Linked DNA regions of Homo sapiens: all the other regions are linked to region 2. Evidence: promoter capture Hi-C in 16 types of primary human blood cells and fetal thymus (Javierre and others, 2016). All regions are on one chromosome and are shown on one strand. The core of a region is centred on a gene start or on the middle of the fragment in contact, and the rest is flanking DNA. Distances in the headings are between cores, read along the strand shown.

What was found. Contacts are between HindIII fragments. The CHiCAGO score rates a contact against its expected background, and 5 or more counts as called.
Region 1: a contact is called between a fragment that was not itself captured here and the fragment with the promoter of ANAPC10 in region 2, in 1 of 17 cell types (naive CD8 T cells). The highest score is 5.7, in naive CD8 T cells.
Region 3: a fragment that was not itself captured here is called in contact with the fragment with the promoter of ANAPC10 in region 2 in 6 of 17 cell types (total CD4 T cells, non-activated CD4 T cells, naive CD4 T cells and 3 more); the score reaches 13.6 in total CD4 T cells.
Region 4: a contact is called between a fragment that was not itself captured here and the fragment with the promoter of ANAPC10 in region 2, in 12 of 17 cell types (total CD4 T cells, naive CD4 T cells, naive CD8 T cells and 9 more). The highest score is 18.5, in total CD4 T cells.
Region 5: a contact is called between a fragment that was not itself captured here and the fragment with the promoter of ANAPC10 in region 2, in 2 of 17 cell types (total CD8 T cells and total CD4 T cells). The highest score is 5.7, in total CD8 T cells.
Region 6: a contact is called between a fragment that was not itself captured here and the fragment with the promoter of ANAPC10 in region 2, in 7 of 17 cell types (total CD8 T cells, naive CD4 T cells, naive CD8 T cells and 4 more). The highest score is 19.8, in total CD8 T cells.
Region 7: a fragment that was not itself captured here is called in contact with the fragment with the promoter of ANAPC10 in region 2 in 3 of 17 cell types (total CD4 T cells, total CD8 T cells and naive CD8 T cells); the score reaches 12.2 in total CD4 T cells.

Annotation. Positions count from the first base shown.
Region 1 is chr4:146,187,757-146,191,121 of GRCh38, forward strand. LSM6 (LSM6 homolog, U6 small nuclear RNA and mRNA degradation associated) reads left to right here. Exons shown (of 4, transcript NM_007080.3): 4 at 1,866-3,365. The coding sequence ends at 1,900. Among named protein-coding and RNA genes, the nearest start is that of LSM6, 14 kb to the left of the region's middle. The HindIII fragment of the contact is 5,853 bases long and covers 1-3,365 here.
Region 2 is chr4:145,096,470-145,100,064 of GRCh38, forward strand. It overlaps ANAPC10 (anaphase promoting complex subunit 10), which reads right to left and starts at 1,727. Exons shown (of 5, transcript NM_001256706.2): 1 at 1,651-1,727. ABCE1 (ATP binding cassette subfamily E member 1) reads left to right here and starts at 1,842. Exons shown (of 18, transcript NM_002940.3): 1 at 1,842-1,950. RefSeq lists enhancers at 982-1,853, 1,101-2,300, 1,434-1,483, 1,564-1,823, 1,854-2,725 and 1 more. The HindIII fragment of the contact is 4,584 bases long and covers 1-2,778 here.
Region 3 is chr4:143,504,637-143,507,766 of GRCh38, forward strand. No RefSeq gene overlaps it. Among named protein-coding and RNA genes, the nearest start is that of SMARCA5, 7.5 kb to the right of the region's middle. The HindIII fragment of the contact is 4,096 bases long and covers 1-3,130 here.
Region 4 is chr4:143,533,977-143,537,269 of GRCh38, forward strand. SMARCA5 (SNF2 related chromatin remodeling ATPase 5) reads left to right here. Exons shown (of 24, transcript NM_003601.4): 10 at 879-988; 11 at 2,476-2,702. Among named protein-coding and RNA genes, the nearest start is that of SMARCA5-AS1, 21 kb to the left of the region's middle. The HindIII fragment of the contact is 9,461 bases long and covers 1-3,293 here.
Region 5 is chr4:143,193,183-143,196,709 of GRCh38, forward strand. It overlaps USP38 (ubiquitin specific peptidase 38), which reads left to right. Exons shown (of 10, transcript NM_032557.6): 3 at 2,534-2,663. Among named protein-coding and RNA genes, the nearest start is that of USP38, 10 kb to the left of the region's middle. The HindIII fragment of the contact is 3,520 bases long and covers 1-3,216 here.
Region 6 is chr4:143,550,683-143,554,086 of GRCh38, forward strand. SMARCA5 (SNF2 related chromatin remodeling ATPase 5) reads left to right here. Exons shown (of 24, transcript NM_003601.4): 24 at 2,437-3,404. The coding sequence ends at 2,502. Among named protein-coding and RNA genes, the nearest start is that of SMARCA5-AS1, 38 kb to the left of the region's middle. The HindIII fragment of the contact is 1,246 bases long and covers 717-1,962 here.
Region 7 is chr4:143,566,561-143,569,872 of GRCh38, forward strand. No RefSeq gene overlaps it. Among named protein-coding and RNA genes, the nearest start is that of SMARCA5-AS1, 53 kb to the left of the region's middle. The HindIII fragment of the contact is 152 bases long and covers 1,629-1,780 here.

The sequences.
Region 1 (3,365 bases), core at 95-2,594, 1.1 Mb after region 2:
TTTGGCAGTTCGTCCTATTTGTCCCTTCTCTATTAAACATTCAGATGCTTTCTATGCAGATTTGCATCCTTCAGTTTGGCAAAAATGGCAAAATAGAAAAAGTTACTCAGTTTTTAACAACTAATAAATTGCTATGATTTTTATAGTTATTTTTAAGTACCTAGTTTAAAAATGAAAATTATAATAAAGTCATATTTGTATTTTTGGTGGGGAGGGAAAGATATCAGAATTATGAGAATTACCCCACTTTTTGGTTCCATCTCCCAGAAACTCTGGGATTCTTGAGTTCAGATTTTTTGTTGATTTCTTTAATTCTGGATGTCTTCAACCCCCTAAATAGTTGGATCTCTTTGCTATAAACTAAACTTCCTGACTTTTATAATAAGAGTCTGTCCCCTATGCTTACAGGACCTTATTTCTTCATATCATATTTTTACATACATTATTTCCTGGCTTTCTAGTCCTTTCTATTTATAGAATTATTTATCCTATTTTTCATATCCTTATTTGACCTCCTCTTTTTCCTAAGAAATGTTATGATCTTGTCTCACCTCAAGACAGCTAATGGCAGCAGTCACTGGCAGGTTGGGTTCTGTGCGTGTTGATAGGGTAGATCCTTTAACGTGCACACTACCCCTAGGACTTGGGGGGCAGGGTTGGGGGGCGGCTGTACTGGCATTCTGATGCTTCCCTTCATGTCACATTTCCCATGATGTAATCAGTGACACTCATCTTTAGACTCCCAAGTTCACATCATTGGCTCTTAAAGAGGATCTTGACTTATTTGATTCATCTGTGCTATGTTCTTTGATGAAGACACCTTACTGTTCGCTTTGAGCAGACCTCTCAGAAGCCGAGTAGGCATGGAAGGTGGAAGGGAGAACCACCTCTAGTTTGGCCAAAGTGACCCAAGCATTTCATTTTGTTTCATTCCTACGGACCACACATCCTACGAGTTCATGTTGGTAGTCATGAGAAGACCACTAAGCAGAACATTAGGTAACACCAAAGTATGAGACTTTTAACGGGAACTCAGAATAAGGACTTTGGTATCATTAAAAAATAAAAATAAAAAATAAACTCCTTAGCTCTTGTTTATCCTGTTGCATTTAAGAAGGTAAACAGCAAGTTTAGAGTTTGTATTGGGGAGACAGATGAAAATATGTTGTTTATTCTTAATTTGAGATCTAGCCTGGTTAGATTTACTGATTTACTTTCTGAAAAGCATCTTTTTTTTTTTTTTTTTTTCCTGAGATGAAGTCTCGCTCTGTGGCCCAGGCTGGAGTGTAGTTGTGCAATCTCAGCTCACTGCAGCCTCTGCCTCCCAAGCTCAAGCAGTCCTCCCACCTCAGCGTTCTAAGTCGCTGGGACTACAAGTGCATATACCACCATGCCTGGTTAATTTTTTGTATTTTTGGTAGAAACGGGGTTTCACCATGTTGCCCAGGCTGGTCTCAAACTTCTGAGCTCAAGTGATCCACCCGCTTCAGCCTCCCAAAGTGCTAAGATTGCAGGCGTGAGCCACCGTGTTCAGCCCTGAAAAGCATAATTCTTATACTTCTAACTATAAAGCATTCTTAGATACCAGGGACTTTCACATATATTTTATTTTATCTTCCTGGTCACACTTTAAAGAGTCAGTGAGACACATGGATGAAATTAGGACAGTTTTGTAAGACATCAAACCTGGGTGTAGATTCATAAAACTAGTCTTACAGTACTTCTAGAGTTAATTGAATGATACGAGAATTCCTTTTAAATGTCAGATGTATCAGACCAAAATCTGTTGGCTTTTAAACTTGCTACTATGTATACTTACAAGCAGGGTTTTTTAAATTTCAATTTATGTATTTTTTTCTTTTCAGTGTTGTACATCAGTACACAGAAGAGACGGATGTGAAGACACCAAGAGAGCAACGCTTTTCATAGTTGGATATATTTTTTTATGAATTTTTTCTAATTTTTGCTTCTTTTGTGATACAATTTGTCCTCTTTTTATAATAGTTGGTGATTTTTCACTGACATGTGAGTAAGATAAATGTATACAATTGTGGATTTAATTGTGAAATGTTCTTTCACTTGTAAGTTTCAGTCATTTTCTTTTACCTCGTTGTCAGTGTACAGAATGCTAAAATAATTAAAAAAAGACAAAATATACCTCTTCCTACAAGATTATTTAACTTAAGTTTCGAGAAGTGTCATTTCATTTGACTTGCTTTTCTTATCCAGCTAAAATGATGCATATATTTTATATATTGTATGGACATATAATTAAAACATTTTGGAGGAATCCTCCTTTATTGCATCCTTTTCTGTTCATACAGAATCCTTGCGTGAATATGTTCTACAAAGGCATCCAGTTTCAGTCTGAAGCTACAAAAAGGGGCCACAGGATCAGAAGTTCAGCCACTGATTGAGTCACCTAAATAAAAAACAGAATTGGAAAGCCAAGAGTGCCACTTGCACATAAGGAGTGGGAATTCGAACTGAGGTGCTGGAGAAATCCTAAAGATGAACAAGATTTCAGTGAGGAGAAAGCCCTCCTGTCAGTGGTCCCCCTGCATCTCCTTATGCAATTAGACTTTTTAGGTTTCCCTGCTCCCTTTCAGGAGCATTGGCATCAACGTTATTCTCTCAGTTTATGAACACAGTAGGGGAGGGGCCATTCCTGTACATCTCTCACAGTCAGATTAAAGCAAAGCCTAGAGTTTGTAAACATAATTCAGGTTCTAATTGCCGAGCTGAGATTGGGAAAGAATTTTTCCTAACTCTGGTCTAGCAAGTGGCTGTAGGGAGGCCTTTCTCAAAAATCAGCTGTATTTGCCTTTGACATTGTCCAGGAGCAGAGCACCAGGCTTTATGTTGCTTGGCACAAGGCAGCTCCTCTGGTTATGTGACTCCTGCTGAGAGGATTTTCACAATTTATTAATGAGCTTTCCACAACCCTGCTTTATTCTCCAAACAGTTTTACGCTGTCTCTAGGAACAACAAATATATCTGGGCACTGTGGTTGAATGAATACCAGACAATTGTGTGAATGTTGTATTGGACTTCCTCTTCCCTCCCTTCCCAATCTAAATAGCATTCCTATTTCAGGAGCCGATGGTGTGATTCGAAACAACTGCTTGGTTGAAGGATGGGGGGCAGGATCGAGAAGGAGAGAGGGAAGGGGCAGTGCTGATTCTGGAGAGGTGTATGTAGTGTTTTGTCTTGGTTTATTTTAAAGATCAGAGAGTAATTGGAAACAATTATTTTTTAATTAATAACTTGGGAAAGGTGAACAGAAGCATTTCACAGGGTTTTACCGTGTGCACACTGAAAATAAAACACTTTATGCTATGCTTCAATAATTTATCACTTCTTGA
Region 2 (3,595 bases), core at 477-2,976:
AGTCAAAAGAGCACAGAATCAAAGTTTTGGCTTCAGTATCTCCTTTAATCAGCCTAGACTTTGAGTAGGTCTGGGCTTTATTTCCTCTCCTGTTAAAGAGGTTCACTTGATGATTTTTACTTCTACAATGCTATGCAGTTCTATAATTCTGTGCCTGAAAATTCAAATGACTTTTAGCCCTAGAAAAGTCAGACTGAAATACTTTTATTCTAGGAATATATAAATATTGATCCTCATTTTATTTACTTAATTCCTTTTTTTTTAGAGACAGGATCTAGCTATGTTACCCAGGCTGGTCTTGAACACCTTGCTTCAAGCGATCCTCCCACCTCAGCCTCCCAAGTAGCTGGGATTACAGGTGTGATCCCATCACCCCACTAAGATCCTCATTTTAAATATTCATTGAGTGATGCAGAGAACAGTCATACCTGCCCTCTAGCTGTCAAAAGTTTTATTTAAGACCCAGCCCGGTGGCTCACACCTGTAATCCCAGCAGTTTGGGAGGCCAAGGCAGGTGGATTGCTTGAGCCCAGGAGTTCGAGACCAGCCTGGAATATGGTGAAACCCTGTCTCTAAAAAAATTCCAAAAAATCAGCCTGGTGTGGCGGCACACACCTGTAGTCCCAGGGGGGCTGAGACAGGAGGATCACCTGAACTGGGAGGCGGAGGTTGCAGTGAGCCGAGATCGTGCTACTGCACTCCAGCCTGCGTAACAGAGCAAGACACTGTCCCAAAAAGCACAAAAATAAGAAAAAAATGTTAAAAGTTCACTTACATATGCTCTTACCATAGAAGATAAGGTCAGGAAAATGGCTTCAAGATTTTGAAGTGAATAACTGGCCCATTCTAAAAAGGTTGACCTCATCTTTCACATCTTTTGTTAATTTTACTAAGTCTATTCATATGTGAAAAAACACTTCAATACTGGATCGTGAACAATATGTAAAACTGCTTTGGTAGCGCAGTTACTGCTACTGAACATTGTTATATATGCTATTCAAAATAGGTGCAATAGTTCTGCATACCGTTTCCTTGACACCTCCCATTGTATCCGAAGTTGTTCTTTAATCGGCACACAAGCACTTGATACTTACTAAATAACGGCAGACACAACGGACTGTAAACTTTGGCAAGGCCTGAGGCTTAAACGCTCAATAAGTAATTTACTGAATGAATAAACAGATGAATAGGTTCAGTTATGAACTAGTTGTCACTTGCCTGCAAGTTAGGTGAGATCTAGGGCGAGACTATTCAACCTGCAACCATCATTACTAACTGAATGTCCTGTTACCTAAAAAAAGATAGAAATAAAGCCCATCTTTAGGGCAGAATTCAACTGCCGGACTTGGGACTGGACGCCACCAAGTGGATAAAATATGGAGCTCGGAAAAGATTGGATTCCCGGCCCTGAACTGACCACACAGTTGAGAGGAAGTTGAGGCCTAGAAGAGCGCGCAACAGTAAGCCGTGTCGGCACCAGACTCTGTTGGTCCTACTGACACCTCCAGCGTTAGAATGACTAAGGCTCCACTCCTGACCCACCGGCCTTGAGGAAAGCGCAAACGTAAAAAAAGATTGAAACCGGAGAGGCGAATGCATCTGTTTACGCTAGGACCACGCTCGACGTCGGAGAAAAGCCCACACACTCACAGTTTCCAGACCTGGCTGCTTGCCGAAACTCAGATTCTCGGCACCTCCAGCAGCTGGCTTCGCCAACGGCGTTGAACAAGGGTCGCAGCTCAATGACGTCATATCTCCCTACCTACCTCCAGGGTTCCGCCTCACGCTCTATGTCGCGCGCGCGCACTACGTCCTATGGCTTGCGCGTGCGGCGGCTGGGCACCGCCATTTTGGCCGGTGGCCGTGAGAACACGCTGTGTGGCTGAAAAGTGAAGGCAAGAGCTGATTTGGCCTCTGTGCTCCCCTCCGCAAGGGGATCGTTTTCTCCAGGTACGTGAATAGCCCGGAGAGGTTTGGCCGTTAGCTGCCATCTGCCAGGTTGGAAAGAATGTAGGGACGTTCTCCGAGAGCCTTTGGTTAGGCCTTAGGTGGCGGAGACAGCAGCAGCGCGTGGCAGCGGTTCCTGCGGGACAGCTGGAACTGATGGAGCGCGGGCGACGCCGAGAGCTTGGGGGCGCCTCGGTCTTCCCCTCCAGCCGACCCGGCTGTCGCCGCTGTTGCCTGCCACACCCGCGAGGGACTTCGAGAATGGACCTAGATGCCGTAGTCTCCACTCCCCCTTTACCCCACTCCCGCCCTGAAGCTAAACCTGCTGGAGAGGAAGGCACCTTTAGAACTTACAGCACTCTCTAGTACCCCCACACTCCTCCAGCACCCAAAATGGATATATTGTCACATGTGCATATTTGGTTGTGGGAAGTCGTGGCTTCCACGTTTTGTTGAGTGGAATGAGTCATGGCATCTTGCCGCCATGAAGTCGAATACTCGCTGTCCACTCCCAGGCTTTATAGAAATGATGCCCACATGTCACTCTGCTTTTCTCAGAACAGCGTGTACGCAGCTATGACTGGGGTTGTCCCAAGTAGTTTCCCAGTAGAAATCCTATAGTTTTTTTGGTACGCTTTTGTAGCACTAGGCACTTTCTCCCCTTACCCGTTTTTCCTTTTATTGTATCTAATACTCATTGAGATCAAGGTTGATGTCTTTACTCAGAATACCTTTATTATCTCTTCAGGGCTTCGTACATTGTAGGCATTTAATACGTATTGTGAATGAATGACAGCCAAAGCCGAATTCCCACCTCCCATTAACTACATAAGCTTATTTTCTCTTTTTTGATGGTAAAAATCTATAAGAGGAAGAACTGTCCAAATAACATGTTTTATTTTTTTACTCTTTCCCAACAGGACTGCTAACTAGTCATTTATGATAGTGGCATTTATGTTGCAGTAGTTTGTCCCATATTCTGAGAATATTCATTGTATACCAGCCACCTGACACTAATACTTTGTTAGTGTAACCAAAGGCTCAGAACCTGTATTTGAACCAAAAGCTGTTTGGGGTTTGTGAGCTTTTTGAGAACTTAGTTCTCCCCTATTTTAAAAAAGGGAGTTTTTTTGTTTGTTTGTTTGTTGGAAGAGCATCTAACAATTGGGAGAGAGGGGGAGAAAACAATATTAAGTTAGAGTTCTTCTAAATGTCTTAAACTTAAAACTCTTTGAAATCAGAGCCGTGTACCACTCCTAACTTCTACGTGTTTTGTAAGACTAATAAACTACAATAAGCATGGGTTAGACTATTTCATGTGATACTAAACATCATTAGTTAACAGCAGTCTTTGAAATGCTTTTACACAGCGTTACAATTATTTTGGCTTTAGACTGTAAATGCTTCTAAGTATTCCTCACTTCCTTTTTTCCTCTCAGCTGTAAGAATGACACTGAGGGTCATTGTTCTAGTGTCAATTTTGAACACTTTTGTCTTCGAATCTGAAATATCCGCAAATCCTTCTTTGTTTGCAGGAGCCTGTTAACTATAATCTTCCTCTCCAAGCTTTACTGTGCCTAGGTTTTCTATTGAAAAACAAGTAGGGAATCCCCTTGCCCCAATTATTGAAACTGATACAGAAATTGAA
Region 3 (3,130 bases), core at 495-2,994, 1.6 Mb before region 2:
TAAGTTCAACACCAGGTACTTTGAGATGAATCAGAAACTAAAAAAAGTTTCTTTGAATTTATAAGATACTAAGTCCATACCATCTTTCATAATGAGTTATTATAGAATAATAATTATATACCTACAAGTGTTAAGAATCAAATTTTCAAAAGGCCAAAATTAATCTCCAGCTCTCAAAAAAACATACTTCAAATACATTTTAACTGAATAACTCAATTTCAAGTGCAACTGGGCTTAGAATTGGCAACTTGGATAAAAATTGAACCATGAATGAAAATTAAAAGGATCATAATGCTTGAATGGGAACATTAATAGATTTTTCTATCAAAGATAGTTTACTTTTCTGCAACATAAATAGACCATAAACATATGCTAGAGATTCCAGTCAATTCTTTGCACTAATTTACTCTTCTTTCTAAGAGAGCCTCCATTCTCGGTTGCTGCTCAAGAGGTGGCCTAGGTAGCCATGTTTATATCTAGTGGCCTGATCCCTATTCATACCTAACGAATCTGGGATTGGCACCTGACCTAAACTGAACTGATCTGTCTCTGGACCTTGAGATTTGTAATTGAAACACTGGTTGTTATCTATGAGGTACTATAATGCACAGCCAGTTGGAGTTGGAACAGACTAAACACAATGCACTTACTTAGAAGCAGAGAAACCAAGAGAAAGCAAAGAAAGCTATTCTGGAGAGATGCAGAATGACAAAAATATATGCTGCAGTGGTTACCAGCTTGCATATGGGTTGAATTTCAGTTCTTTTACTTAGTGTAAAATAAAGACAAATTAACTAGTAGGTTACTTACAAGTCCAAATGAGAATTATTTACAATAAAACTAAAACAATAGCACATAGGGGAAAACATGGGCTTAAATAGAAAATCATGAACTGTCTTGACTCCAGAAGACAGACTTTTGGGTTTTCTGACTCTATGTGAGCTATTTTACAACTCTGTAAATTGTAAATAACTTATACAAGTGCAAAATAATTCTCGTCTGTACATACGCAAGTGTTGTCCTATGCATTAGAAGGTAAACTGACTTCCTTCCCCTAGTGTGGAAGAAGATAATTTTACCTCCACTTCCACATTAATTTCAACTTTTCTTTACCCAATATAAATTTGTTTTTCCATTTTTAATCTTTAAACTGTTGTTAACACCTCACTAACTTCCGTATTAGTGAGTTAAATAAAATCTTTAACAAGTGTTCTTTTTTATGTATGTATGAGAATCATGCTTTTACTTTTTTAAAAAATTTCTTTTAACAGTTTTGGGAGTTTTCCACAAACATGTCCACTGGATTCACTTAACAAGACCAGGTGTATTAGTCTGTTTTCACACTGCTATAAAGAAATACCGGAGACTGGGTAATTTATAAAGGAAAGGTTTAATTGACTCACAGTTCTGAATGGCTGGAGAGGCCTCATGAAACTTACAATCATGGTGGAACAGGAAAAGGCACATCTTACATGGCAGCAGGTGAGAGAGAGAGGAGCGAAGGGGAAAGAGCCCCTTATAAAAACCATCAGGTCTTGTGAGAACTCACTTGCTATCACAAGAACAGCATGGGGGAACTGCCCCCATGTGCCAGTCACCTCCCACCAGGTCTCTCCCTAGACATGAAGGGATTATGGGGATTACAATTCAAGAGCAGATTTGGGTGGGGATACAGCCAAACCATATCACCAGGTAAACTGTCACCAGAGAAGTGCATCTCATGGGTAGTTTAAGCCCAGCATGTCTTGGCTTCCAGAAGTAAATCCAAAGCAGCAATATAAATTTGCTGATGATGTTTTTCTATTTTTAGTTTTCTTCTCTACTAATTTTATGGGTTTTTTTTGTTCTTTTGCAGCTGATAAGTTATTTCCCATTAGTGGCAGCAATAACTGGCAATTTGATTTTTATGATCTGACCATTTGATTTCTGTAGAAGAATTTGTGGCTAATAAAGATCTATTCTCTGCTGAGTGAGAGACAACAAAGTGTTGGATTTGTTAGTCTTTTGGTTTGTCAATTTATCTATTTAGGGCTTAAATCAATTAAGAATTTCCTGTCTATCAGGAAGAACAGCTCTTTAGTATCTGAACTGGAAAGTTATTTTGATATTGTATTTACTCTTGACCAATGGCTGAAATTTTAGAATTAAAACTCTAAGTGCTATCTATCTCTGTCTATATACGTGTCTATAATTCAGAAAAAATTTTACTTTCCTTTTGTGAGTGCGTAATGTTTTCCATCTCAGGATGTAATCAATAAGTTCAATTACAAACTCTTAAAGGGGCCTGTTCTGATTGACTAATAAAGATACTTACATGGATTGAGTATTCCAAAAATTCCCAGAAAATAATAAACTTCTAATAATTTAAACGTGCTAAAATCTAAAAGAAAAGTATTCTTACTGAAACTAACAAGTAGAGAAGCCATGTTCACAAAGTGTAGGTGAATCTTTGGCAAACAAGACTAATTTAATATTTTTGTTTTAATAAAATCATCTATGTCTTATCTAATTTATCAATATTAAGTATAATAAAATCCTATAATAATTTTAGTTGGGAATGTTTTTCCTAAATTTATACTGATTTATTGATCAAATAAACTAGCATTACTTCCACTTTATGGTTAAAGATTATGAAAAATATAAATTTGTATTTGGCCAAATTGGTTCATTATTCTGATTTTCAACAAAAGTTTTATGTCAGTTTGAAGAGAATTTCAGTGATCTCTATTTTTCCTTTTCAGCACTGTGTTGAATATGAATGTTATAAGCAGAAAACCTTCCCTGTTTCAGATCTTAGAGGGAGAGGATTCAATCTCACTAAGTATAATGTTTGCTGTAGGTATTTTGCTGATGCTCTGTATTAAGAGGAGGAAGTTCCACTCTATTTGTTTTCTCTTTTTTTTTTTTTTTCTGAGAGTTTTGTTCTAAATGGGTGTTGGAATTTTGTCAAATGCTTTTTCCTCATCAGTCAATATAATCATGTGAGTTTTCTTCTCTAGCCTGTTGATATGGCAGACAACATTGACTAATACTCAAATATTGAATCAGTGTTGAATATCTGGAATAAATCACATTTGATCAGGGTGCATAATTCTTTTTACACATTGTTTAATTGTATCTGATAATATTT
Region 4 (3,293 bases), core at 643-3,142, 1.6 Mb before region 2:
TTTATTTTGCGAAACAAATAGATGGTTTGTGGCAACCCTGTGTCAAGGAAGTCTATCAATAAACACCGTTTTCCCAACGGCATGTGTTTACTCTGTTTTTAAAGCAGTAATGTATTGCTTTAAATAATGTATCACATTTTTAAAGCAATAATGTACTTTTAAAATAAGGTGTGTACGTTGTTTTTTTTTTAGACATAATGCTATTGCACACTTAATAGTGTAAATGTAACTCTTAGATGCACTGGGAAATGTGACTTGCTTTATTGAGGTAGTCTGGAACTGAGCCTACAATATCTCTGAGGTATGCCTTTATTGAATAAGTAATGGTCTTGTATTACTACCCTTCAGGAACCCAGTAGTAATAAATTATATACAGTTAGCCCTTCATATCCATAGGTTCCACATCCATAGATTCAATCAACTATGGATTGGAAATATTTGTCCCCAAAAAAGATAAAAATAAAATAGATGGTTCCATCTGTGTTAAATATACCGACCTTTTCCTTGTCATTATTCCCTAAACGGTATAGTGTAACAACTATTAACATAGCATTTACATTCCATTAACTATTATTATAAGTAATCTAGAGATGATTTAAAGTATATGGGAGGATGTTTGTAGGTTATATGCAAATACTACATTTTTTATAATGGACTCGAGCATTTGTGGATTTTGGTATTCAAAGGGAAGGGGACAGGAACTAGTCTCCCACAGATACTGAGATATGACTGTATTTGCAGGGAGAAGTCCTAAGAAATCACTTGATACTCACGCAGAGAAATTTCTTTTTCATGTATTTTATATACAATTCTAAGATGCTGAAATATGACCTTATGTGTAATATTGGTATTACCTGTTTATTTTTGTCCTTTTTAAGGTTTTGCGTCCATTCCTCCTTCGTCGAATTAAGGCTGATGTTGAAAAGAGTTTGCCTCCAAAGAAGGAAGTAAAAATCTATGTGGGCCTCAGCAAAATGCAAAGGGAATGGTATGTATTCTCAGATGTACTTGATAGCACTATTGATTCTTCCCTAAATTTCATGTGTATTTTGTTTTCCTAATTTGTGTCTTCATGGAATTCCAATTTGCTGGATTGAACTCAACCTGAAAAGAGTTTTCTTGTCACGTAGTATAGGACTTGCTCATTAAGTTCGTTATAGAAAGTTTTGAACCTGTTAGATGACAGAATCAGGATGGAAGGCTTATGAATCCAAAATTAAAATTGGGATTTAATTAAACGGGGTTCATATGAAACCATCTACTTGGGATTTTTAAAAAGGAAACTGTGATAGCACAGTGTGGGAGATATATGGTTCACTTATAGTTCATAAATACTGGGTCAGTGTAAAGTAGCTGCAGAAAAAGATACTGTTGGCCTTAATGTAAATGTAGTGTTCAAAGGAGAGGAAATAAATATAGCTACCCTTTTCTTTACTGGTCTCATCATATTTCATGTATATTTAACTGCATACTTAAATTTTGATAAGTATTTGCAAGAGGCCAGAGTTGTTTGGTTAAAGGACTTAATATCATATAGAGAACTGGGCATGTTATCTGGGTAAGAGGTTATCTGTAGAAGGTGGTTGGTCCTAAATGTCCTCAAAAACTTCTGAAAGGGTAGCAGATATTAGGCTTACCTTGGATGGCTCTAAAACAGAACTAAGATGAGTCAATGCTAAGGAAAGACAAATCTTTTTTAGTTAAACATTTGAGTGAACTTTATATCAGAATTGAGATGGAAAGGTCTGCCTTGTTGTTTAAGCATAGATTGCCTAGGCTACTTACTTTGTTCAAAGGATCCAAGGCTCTAAAACTTTGATGCTTAGACAAATTACTCATTCTTTCATAACAATGTCTACATCCTTAGTATATGTTCAAGGCTTTTTATAATCTGGCCTTAGCTTATGGCTGTAGCTTCACAGTCCTGCCTCACAGACATACCTCCCTCCCCCATGTATTTATACGTATGTTTAAGTCACGTTGTATTCATATTATTCTCATCATCATGCCTTACCATTTCATTATTCTTCCTGTCTTCTCAGATGTTAGGGTTCTTACCTAAATGCTACACTAGCTATGGGGTATATAGTAATCGAATAGTGGCACTTTCTGTTGCAAAAAAACTGCAAACTAAAATTATGTTTAAAACTTACATTTTTTAAGTTTTGCTTTATTACTTAAAAATATTATGTCTTACTGCTGTAATTCTACCCAAGGGAACTGTTTTTGTACTTTAAAAATAATATCCTCAAGGCCCAAGGCGTAAGTATGAACATTATAATGCTATGGACAGTAAAGAAAAATGGAAGCAAAAAGAGGTTACAGATGTTAAATTCCTAACCATACCTAGAAGTTGATGAGTAGTTTCTTACAGATATTTGGGGGTTCATGTGGGGAAGGGGATTAAGTATGTAAAGTGGCAGGGATTGATCAAGGAACATTTGAGCTCTAAAAATGTTTTTCTTCTTTGAATAGGTATACTCGGATATTAATGAAGGATATAGATATACTCAACTCAGCAGGCAAGATGGACAAAATGAGGTTATTGAACATCCTAATGCAGTTGAGAAAATGTTGTAATCATCCATATCTCTTTGATGGAGCAGAACCTGGTCCACCTTATACAACAGATATGCATCTAGTAACCAACAGTGGCAAAATGGTGGTTTTAGACAAGCTGCTCCCTAAGTTAAAAGAACAAGGTATCGGTTACCCGTATCAAATTATCAAAACTGTTTTAAAATGCTCATGTTAAAACAAAGGAGCACTGTACTTTGAAATGACTGCTCTGATGCTTTCCAAGGTTGACGTGTAGAACATTAAAAAAACCTGTTCATTATCTGAGCTCTAACCCCCACTCCTGATTTTAGGCCTTAAGTCTCTTAGAAGGTAAGCAATAGTTAGAGCAACCATACTCCCTTGATTTTGGGAAGAGTTCATACTTTATATATACTTTCCTAGAAATTATAGCTTTCTGTCATAAAATGTGAAGAATGCATCTCCCTCCCACACATGGTTACCAGATCCATTGTTAGACAGTGGTGGTGTGTTCATGATATTGTTTTTTAATTATTTATGTGGAGTTTTAATTTAATAAGGTACCATGTACATGGACCTGAAACATTTTTATTTGTAGTATGCTGACTTTTTTTATGAAAATGGGTATGTCTGTGTTGTGTGTTTGGGTATATTTAAATTACACGAATGCAGAAAGAACTTAGAAGCCAGCTTCTGATTTTAACTAATAAAAACGTTTTTAGTCTGCTATACCCTTCCTCCTCCCAGATTATTCG
Region 5 (3,527 bases), core at 207-2,706, 1.9 Mb before region 2:
AAACTAAAATTGTTTTTTAAAAAAACTGCAGTGGTTTTTTTTTTCCTTGTTAATTCAACAATTTCTCAGCTCTTTCCATTTTAGATTCCTCATGGATAGATTCATGTACATCTATCTTATTATTTAAAACTCTATATACTGTTGCATAGTATCAGTACCATAGTAGCCATTTCCTTATTGACAATCATTTAGGTTGTTTGCAGTTCTTCTATACCATAAACAGTGCTACAGTGAATACCCTCTGTACACATATGCAAGTGTGTCTCTGCTTTGCTACTCTGTATAAGTAGAATGGCCACAAAATTTTATGAGAATCACCCCAACAATAGTTGGAAGACGTGGAATAGCTGTCAAGGACTATGTTAATCACTTGTAACCATCATTGTTGGAAAAGGCCAGAAAAACAAGAATGGAAATAAAGTTTGTGTAGAGAATGGAGGGAACATACACATAACTTGTAGTTAACATGCATTTGGACTTTGGGACCACTCTTAATATCCGAATGGACATTTTAATTTTAAAAGCAAAAACCTTAATAAAAAACATTCCAGTGTTAATGTAGATAGTTATATAACACAACTGTTGTGAAAATAACCATATAAATGAAGATGTCAGTCCTTTGGCCAGGCACAGTGCCTCACACCTGTAATCCTAACACTTTAGGAGGCCGAGGTGGGCAAATCACTTGAGGCCAGGATTTCAAGACCAGCTCAGGCAACCCCCTTGGTGAAACCCCATCTCAGAAAATACAGAAATTAGCCAGTTGTGGTGATGCACAGCTGTGTAGTCCTAGCTACTCAGATGGCTGAGGAGAGAGGGTCGCTTGAGCCTAGGAGGCGAACTTTGCAGTGACCTGAAGTAATGCTGCTGCACTCCGGTCTGGGTGACAGAGCGAGACTGTGTCTCAAAAAGAAAAAAGATGTCAGTCCTTTTAACATAGTAGTTGTTGTTTTAGTAATGTATTTATGTCCTTAGTGTTTATATTTACATTTTGTATAATCAAGGTATTTATTTATTGCCACATGTATTAACATTTGGTGGAAGAGAGGCATTCACAATGTTTCCAGTGTTATAGATTAATTCATTTAATCTTCACAACAGTGCTATAAAATAAGCATGTTTATCTGTAATTTACAGGTGAGGAAACAGAGAGGTTAAATAATCTATGTAGGTATTTAGGGTCCCCTAGCTAATAAATGGTGAATTGAGCTTTTTAAACCAGTCACTCTGGCTTCAAAAACTCATTTTTCCCCTTTCTATTTTCTTAGTATATAATCCCAAAAATAGGACTACTAGGTCAAATTATATGAACATTTGCTTCAGTTGCTTTCTTTTTTTTTTTGGAGACGGAGTCTCGCTCTGTTGTCCAGGCTGGAGTGCAGTGGCGTGATCTCGGCTCACTGCAACCTCCGCCTCCCAGGTTCAAGCCATTCTCCTGCCTCAGCCTCCCGAGTAGCTGGGATTACAGGCACGTGCCGCCATGCCTGGCTAATTTTTGTATTTTTAGTGGAGATGGGGTTTCACCCTGTTGGCCAGGCTGGTCTCGAACTTCTGACCTCTGGTGATCCAGCCGCCTTGGCTTCCCAGAGTGCTGAGATTACAGGCGTGAGCCACTGCATCTGACTTTCAGCTGCTTTCTGAAAGAGTTGTATCAATCTTCATTGTGGTAGAGATCTAACTTTAGGGAGTGTCTCTGTCCAATCCTATATTACTTTTTTTTTTTTTTTCACTAAATTGGGTAATTTAATGAGTTTTCTTTCAAGAAAAGCACTCATTAGTGCAAAATGAAGCCATTACAATATTTACAGACTTAGTGCTTTTTTATATATTTGAAGTTTCTTTTTGTTCTCTTTGTATAGTCGGATTTGAAAAAGATACCTCTTTCACAGTTCAAAATACAGTCTTTTTAAACAGTACATTTCATATTAGACTGTACTCACCAGGAAGGAGGAATCTTGGATCATATTCATATGTCTTAGTTCAGATTACATTTCAGCTGCTCTTTTTAGAGTAAATTTGCCTAATAAATTCTTGATACAGGTTGAGCATCCCAAATTTGAAATGTTTGAAAATCCAGTACTTTTTGAGTGCTGACATGATGCTCAAAGGAAATGCTCATTGGGACATTTCAGATTTCAAATTTTTGGATTTGAAATGCCCAGCCAGTAAATATGTAATGCAAATAATTGAAAATCCAAAGCACTTCTGGTTCCAGACATTTCAAATAAGGAATACTCAACCTGTGCCACTATATAGCATAAATTTTAAGTTTTGCGTTTATGCAAAATAATTTATCAGAAATTCTTTTTATGGAAATATGTTGGATATGAGAAACTGTCAGTTTACAAGATTGGAAATTCCATGAGAACAAGCACCTGTTACATTCACTTCTACATCTTGGTCAGTGCTTTTCACCAGCAAATTCAGTAAATGTTTATTCACAAAGTGAGTGATTATCTACTGTAACTCTTGTTATCACTAACTAAATGAAAATATTTTCAATAATGATTGTTTCATTTTCCTTCAATTTCAGAATGATTGACTGGCTATCCTGGCCATTGGCTCAGCATGTGGATACATGGGTAATTGCACTCCTGAAAGGACTGGCAGCTGTCCAGAAGTTTACTATTTTGATAGATGTTACTTTGCTGAAAATAGAACTGGTAAGTGGGAGTATGGAAATCTATTAGAATATATAGACTCATAAAATCAATATTTTTTTCTTTGGGTGGTATCCTTGAAAGCATCTAATTTTGAATATGTTATTGTTGTTTTGTTTTGAATAACAGTTTGAATAGGCTTTAGAAATTTTTTTAAATGTCATTTAAATATAAGTAATTAGGTTGGGCATGGTTGCTCACAACTGTAATCCCAGCACTTTGGGAGGCTGAGGCGGGCAGATCACTTGAGGCCAGGAGTTCAAGACCAGCCTGGCCAACATGGCAAAACTCCGTCTCTACTAAAAATACAAAAATTAGGTTGGCATAATGGTTCATGCCTGTAGTCCCAGCTGCTCAGGAGGCTGAGGCACGAGAATGACTTGAATCTGAGAGGCAGAGGTTGCAGTGAGCCAAGATAGCACCACTGCACTCCAGCCTGGATGACAGAGCAAGACTGCGTCTCAAAAAAAAGTATAAGTAATTAAAATAATTTTTTCATTTTCAAATATCCAATATGAAAACATTCTTTCCATTATCTCTTGAGTCCAGCTAATCAAGCTTTTACCACCATTACTCTACCAAAATTACCAGTGGTTTCCAGTGTTGCTAAACTCAAGAGTCATTTCTCAGGCCTCGTCTCATTTGACCTGTCAGCAGTATTTGGCACAGTCGATCACTCCCTCTTGTTTCCAGGACATTATACTCTCCTGATTTTTGTCCTCCTTCACAGGCTTATCAGTCTCCTGTACTTACTCTAACTTTTAGAATGCCTTACAGTTCAGTCTTTGGTCCATTTTCTTCTCAGTGCATACTCACAGCATAGGTGTTCCATGGCTTTAAACAACATCTCTAATTTGATGACTGCCA
Region 6 (3,404 bases), core at 90-2,589, 1.5 Mb before region 2:
CCAAGTTTGTCTTTCTGTGTCTGGCTTATTTCACTTAATAAACTCCAGTTCCATCCATGTTGCTGCAAATTACAGGGTCTCATTGCTTATGGTTGAATAGTATTCTATTGTGTATACATACCATGTTTTCTTTATCCATTTATCTGTTGATGGACACTTAGGTTGCTTCCAAATCATGGCTACTGTGAATAGTGCTGCAGTAAACATGGGAGTGCACATATCTCTTTGATATACTGACTTTCTTTTGGGTGTAAACCTAGGAGTAGGGTAACTCTTATCTGTAGTTTTTTGAGGAACCTTCAAACTGCTTCCACAGTGATTGTACTAATTTGCGTTCCCACCAAAAGTGTATGAGGGTTTCCTTTTCTCCACATTCTTGTCAGGATTTGTTATTGCCTGACTTTTGGATAAAAGCCATTTTATCTGGGATGAGATGTTATCTCATTGTAGTTTTGATTGCATTTCTCTGATGATCAGTGATACTGAACAGCTTTTAATATGCTTGTTTGCCATTTGTATGTCTTCCTTTGAGAATCATCTGTTCAGATCTTTTGCCTATTTTTAAATCGGACTGTTAGGATTTTTTTCAGTAGAGTTGTTTGAGCTCTTACATATTCTGGTTATTTATTAATCCTTTGACAAATGGGTAGTTTGCAAATATTTTCTTCCATTCTGTGGGATGTCTCTTCACTTTGCTGTTTCCTCTGCTGTGCAGAAGCTTTTTAACTTAATGTGATCCCATTTGTCCATTTTTGCTTTGGTTGCCTGTGGGGTATTATTCAAGAAATCTTTGCCCAGTCCAGTGTTCTGGAGAGTTTTCCCAATGTTTTCTTGTAGTTTCACAGTTTGAGGACTTAAAGTCTTTAATACATTTTGATTTGATTTTTTTATATAGTTAGGGATACAGGTCAAGTTTCATTCTTCTGTGTATGGATATCCAATTTTCCCATTACCATTTATTGAAGAGACTGTCCTTTCTCCAGTGTATGTTCTTGGTAGCTTTGTCAAAAATGAGTTCCATGTAGATGTATGGACTTTACGGACTTATCTCTGGGTTCTCTGTTCTTTTCCACTGTTGCACTGATCTATGTATCTGTTTCTATACCAGCACCATGCTGTTTTGGTTACTATAGCTCGGTACTATAAGTTAAGTCAGGTAATGTGATTCTTCCAGTTTTATTCTTTTTGCTTAGGGTGGCTTTGGCTATTTCTGGGTGTTCTGTGGGTCCATATAAATTTTAGTATTTTTTTTTCTATTTCAGTGAAGAATGTCATGGGTATTTTGATAAGGATTGCATTGAATCTGTGGATTGCTTTGGGTAGTATGGACATTTTAACAATATTGAATTTGCTAATCCATGAACATGGAATATCTATTTTTTTGTGTCTTCAGTTTCTTACATCAGTGTTTTATAGTTTATCTTAGAGATCTTTCGCTTCTTTGATTAATTCCTGGGTATTTTATTTCACGTGTAATTACTGTAAATGGGATTACTTTTTATTTTTCACATTCTTCACTGTTGGCATAGAAATGCTACTGTTTGTTGTATGTTGATTTTGTATCCTGCAGTGTCACTGAATTTGTTTATGAGTTCTAATAGTTTTTTGATGGAGTCTTTAGGTTTTTCCAAATGTAAGATTATGTCATTTACAAATAGGGCAATTTGACTTCTTTGTTTCCGATTTAGATGTCCTTTCTTTCTTTCTCTCGTCTGATTGCTGTAGCTAGGACTTCCTTGAAATACTTAAAAAGTACAAATTTAGCTTGACTGGGTTGTGTGGGAAAAATCACTTCTTGATGATATGGTAGTCCTTAATATGGGGCTTCGTGAAAATCAGGAAAGTATGTCTCGTAAATGTCAAGTGTGTACACATCTCATTGAGAATACAAGTTATAATTTTAGAATAATTTAAGAAACATTGGAAAAGCAGTGGTATTATGACTTTTACTGTTAGTCTCTAAGCTTTGATTATTTCAGTGATGTTTTAGCAATGTGAAGGCAAACACTTAAAGGGAAAAAATGTTATTTAATAATAGTTAATTTAATAAAAAATGGTTAATTTATAAAGTCATGAATAAATGAGTATCTCTGGATAATATTTGGTACTTATGTAACTGCCTTTTAAAAACTCAAGTGTTTCTTACTATTTTGGGAAGCTTGCATTTATTTGATATTGATCTACTACTGTTAATTGTGCATTAGTTTTATAACGTCATTATTAACATTAACATTTTTTATTCTGTAAGTAAAATAAGTAGGTAAGATTATTTGGAGGCTTTATAGTTTGCTTTGAAAGATTTATATAGCCTGGGGGAAAAGTCTCATACCTATTACTTTGTAGTAGTTGTTATTACTAAAGTGTTATAATGTGTCTGCAACTATATTTCATGTTTATATTAGTCTTGTGAAAAGTAATCCTTCTGTCTGTTTGTAGACACAGAAACGTAAAATGGATGGCGCACCTGATGGTCGAGGAAGAAAAAAGAAGCTGAAACTATGAATATGTTTTTGTTTCATAATCACTAACTTTAAACCAGTAGTTCTTTAATTTACGGGTCTTCATAAGATGTACTGTACAATGCTCAATTGTTATGTCATTTAAAGACATCAGGTTCATCTGTTTACTGAGCTAGAAACATAGTATGTAGTTTCACTTTTTTAAATGCAACAGCTGTGCTGAAATTTTTTTATCATTAACACTTGAAGTAATAAAATAGGCTTCATTTATTACTAAGTGTTTCATTTGATTTATTTTTCTATTGTAGTTCCATTTGTGAAGATTGTGACTTTTTGTTTATTAGCTATAATTTCTACACTTGTAAGGCTTAAAAACAAGTTAAAAAGAAAATTGCAAATAACATTTGTCCCTTTCAGTCTTCACCTAGTTGTGTAATTATTTTAATTCACTTTGCCTTTGCAGAAATTTGGGTATTTTCTTTGTAGTGCTATTGAGTCTCATCTGGAAAGATTATATAAATTGCATTCTCCTTGCTTATGTGGGTAGAATGGGAAAAGAAGGCAAGACAAAGTATACTTAAATTCTATGCATATTTCTGTTATGCTTTCTGTTTTTTTTAGTTGATTCTGAAATGAATATGCCCTATTCTTTTGAAAGAATGGCCTTTTAGTTGTATAGCCAAAGACATTTAGTATTTTCCGGTTCCTTAAGGTATTACTGTACCATTTTGTAAAAGGAATATTATTATTATTATTTTTAATTATTTGGTAAATATTTTGTCATATGACCTTCTGAAGCAGCCACAACTTAGATAATGTCAGAACTAAGGTGATTTTTTTTTTTTAATTTTGAAAGCCCAGCCAAAATGAGGTGTGAATTTGTCATACTGTTACATTGAAATTGGTAACAAAATATATCCCCTCCCATTTGGACTTTTAGGGTAA
Region 7 (3,312 bases), core at 455-2,954, 1.5 Mb before region 2:
TGTGATACCTCCAGATCTGTTCTTTTTGCTTAGTCTTGCTTTGGCTATGTGGGCTCTTTTTTGGTTCCATATGAATTTTAGGATTGTTTTTTGTAGTTCTGTGAAGAATGATGATGGTATTTCTATGGGAATTGCATTGAATTTGTAAATTGCTTTCGGCAGTATGGTTATTTTCACAATATTGATTCTTCAAATCCATGAGCATGGAATGTGTTTCCATTTGTTTGTATCATCCACAATTTCTTTTAGCAGTGTTTTGTAGTTTTTCCTCGTAGAGATCTTTCATCTCCTTGGTAGGTATATTCCTAAGTATTTTATTTTATTTTTTTTGTGGCTGTTGTAAAGGGGGTTGAGTTCTTGATTTGATTCTCAGCTTGGTCATTGTTGGTGTATAGCAGTGGTACTGATTTGTGTGTATTGATTTTCTATCCTGAAACTTTACTGAATTCATTGATCAGATCTAGGAGGTTTCTGCATGAGTCTTTAGGATTTTTTAAGTATATGATCATATCATTGGTGAACAGTGACAGCTTGACTTCCTCTTTACCAATTTGGATGCCCTTTATTTATTTCTCTTGTCTGATTCCTCTGGCTAGACTTACAGTACTATGTTGAATAGAAATGGTGAAAGTAGGCATCTTTGTCTTGTTCCAGTTCTCAGGCGGAATGATTTCAACTTTTCCCCTTTCAGTATAATGTTGGCTATGGGTTTATAATAGATGGCTTTTATTACCTTGAGCTATGTCCCTTTCATGCCGATTTTGCTGAGGGTTTTGATCATAAAGGGATGCTGGGTTTTGTCAAATGCTTTTTCTGCATCTGTTGAGATGATCACATAATTTTTGTTTTTAATTCTCATAACTTGTTTTTGATCTTACAGGCTTATAGATGGAAGGAACTTTCCTTGAGTCTCAGATTGGACCTTTTGGACCTTTTTTTTTTTTTTTTTTTTTTTCTTTTGAGTTAAGGGTCTCACTTGGTCACCCAGGCTGGAGTGCAGTGGCATGATCTCAGCTCATTGAAGCCTCTGCCTCCCAGGTTCAAGTGATTCTCTTGCCTCAGCCTCTCAAGTAGCTGCAATTACAGGTGTGTGCCACCACACCTCACTAATTTTTATATTTTTAGTAGAGACAGATTTCACCATGTTGCCCAGGCTGGTCTCGAACTCCTGACCTCAAGTGATCTGCCCACCTTGGCTTCTCAAAGTGCTGGAATTACAGGTGTGAGCCACCATGCTCAGTCTCAGATTGGACTTTTGAGCTGATGCTTGGAATGAGTTAAAATTTTGGGGGACTATTGGGAAGGGATGATTCTTTTTTGCAGTGTGAGAAGATCATTAGATTTGGGAGGGAAGGGGTAGAATGATATAGTTTGGGTATTTGTTCCCTCCAAATCTCATGTTTAAATTTGGTCCCCAGTGCTGAAGGCAGGGCTTGGCTGGAGGTGTCTGGGTTGTGAGGTGGATACCTCAAGAATGGCTTGGTGCATTTCTTACAGAATGAATGAGTTCTTGTTCTGTTTGTTCACAGGAGAACTTGTTGTTTAAAAGAGTGTGGCACCTTCATCCCCCTTTTTCCTTTCTTGCCATGTGACACACCAGCTCCCCTTCACCTTCTGCCATGATTGAAAGCTTCCTGAAGCCTCACCAGAAACAGATGCTGGTGCCATGCTTCCTGTACAGCCTGCAGAATTGTGAGCCAAATAAACTTTTCTTTATAAATTACCCAGCCTCAGGTGTTCCTTTATAGCAACACAAATGGACTAAGACAGCAGTTTTCAAAGCTTTACACATTTGGCTGTATGTCTTTTTTCTCTTCTACAGCTGTCTAACCTGCTTCTTATTTGCCCCAAAGGAGGATATAGGGAAACTTTGGGCTCATGTTAATGCTCATAGGTAGATGTCAGCAGTGATACTTCTGGATCAGGTGAGGCTATCCATTTGACTTTTACACTTGAGCCCATCAGACAGCTTTACTACTGTATTAGTCCATTCTCATGCTACTAATGAAGACATACCTGAGACCGGGTAATTTATGAAGGAAGGGGTTTAATGGACTCACGGTTCCACATGTCTGGGAAGGCCTGACAATCATGGCGGAAGGCTAATGAGGAGCAAATTCATGTCTTACATGGCAACAGGCAAGAGAATTTGTGCAAGGGAACTCCCGTTTATAAAACCACCAGATCTTGTAAGACTTATTCACTACCATGAGAATAGTTGGGGGAAACTGCCCCCATGATTTAATTATCTCCACCTGGCCCCATCCTTGACACATGAGGATTATTACAATTCATGGTGAGATGTTGGTAAGGACACAGCCAAACCGTATCATTCCACCCGTGGCCCCTCCCAAATCTCATGTCCTCACATTTCAAAACCAATCATGCCTTACCAACAATCCCCCAAAGTCTTAACTGACTTCAGCATTAACTCAAAAGTCCACAGTCCAAAGTAATCGCCCTTGAAACATGGGGATTACTACAATTCAAGGTGAGATTTGAGTGGGAACACAGCCAATCCATATCAACTACCAACATTAAATCACTTTAAAAAAGGTGCCAAGAAATCTGATACTTTGCTTTACATTTAAAAGAAGAGGATAAGAAGTCTAAAAAGGCTTTAGGAAAAATCTTTCAAATCACCCTCCATTATTAGGTGGAGTAAGCACTGGGCTAGCTAGCAGTCAGGAGAATAGAGTCATAGTCTCAGCCATATCACAGCCAATGTGATGCTGGGAAAAATAATTTGCTGAAATGGAACAGGAGCTCATCTTTTTTTTTTTTTTTTTTTGAGACAGGGTCTCATCCAGGCTGCCTGGAGTACAATGGCACAATCATAGCTCACTGCAGTCTTGAACTCCCAGGCTCAAGAAATACTCTTGCTTTAGCCTCCCAAGTAGCCAGGACCACAGGTGTGCACCACCACACTCAGCTAATTTTTAAATTTTTTTTGTAGAGATAGGGTTTTGCTTTATAGCCCTGGCTGTTATTGAACTACTGGCTTCAAACTATCCTTCTCCCTTGGCTTCCCAAGGTGCTGGGATTACAAGTGTGATTCACAACACTCAGCTAGGATCTCATCATTTTAAAGCACTTTTGCTTGTACATTTCAGTTGAATCAACTCAAGCCTCAGTTTCCTCAGGTTCCATGATTCTTTGTATAACTCTGTACTTATCAGCTATAAGTATAAGCACATCAACAAATCACAGGTACTTCAATTCATGCTTTTATGGCAAGATGTGGAAGAAATGTAAAATTAGGAGTCAGGTGATGTGGGCTCAAATCTTAGCTCCACCCCTTGATACCTGAAC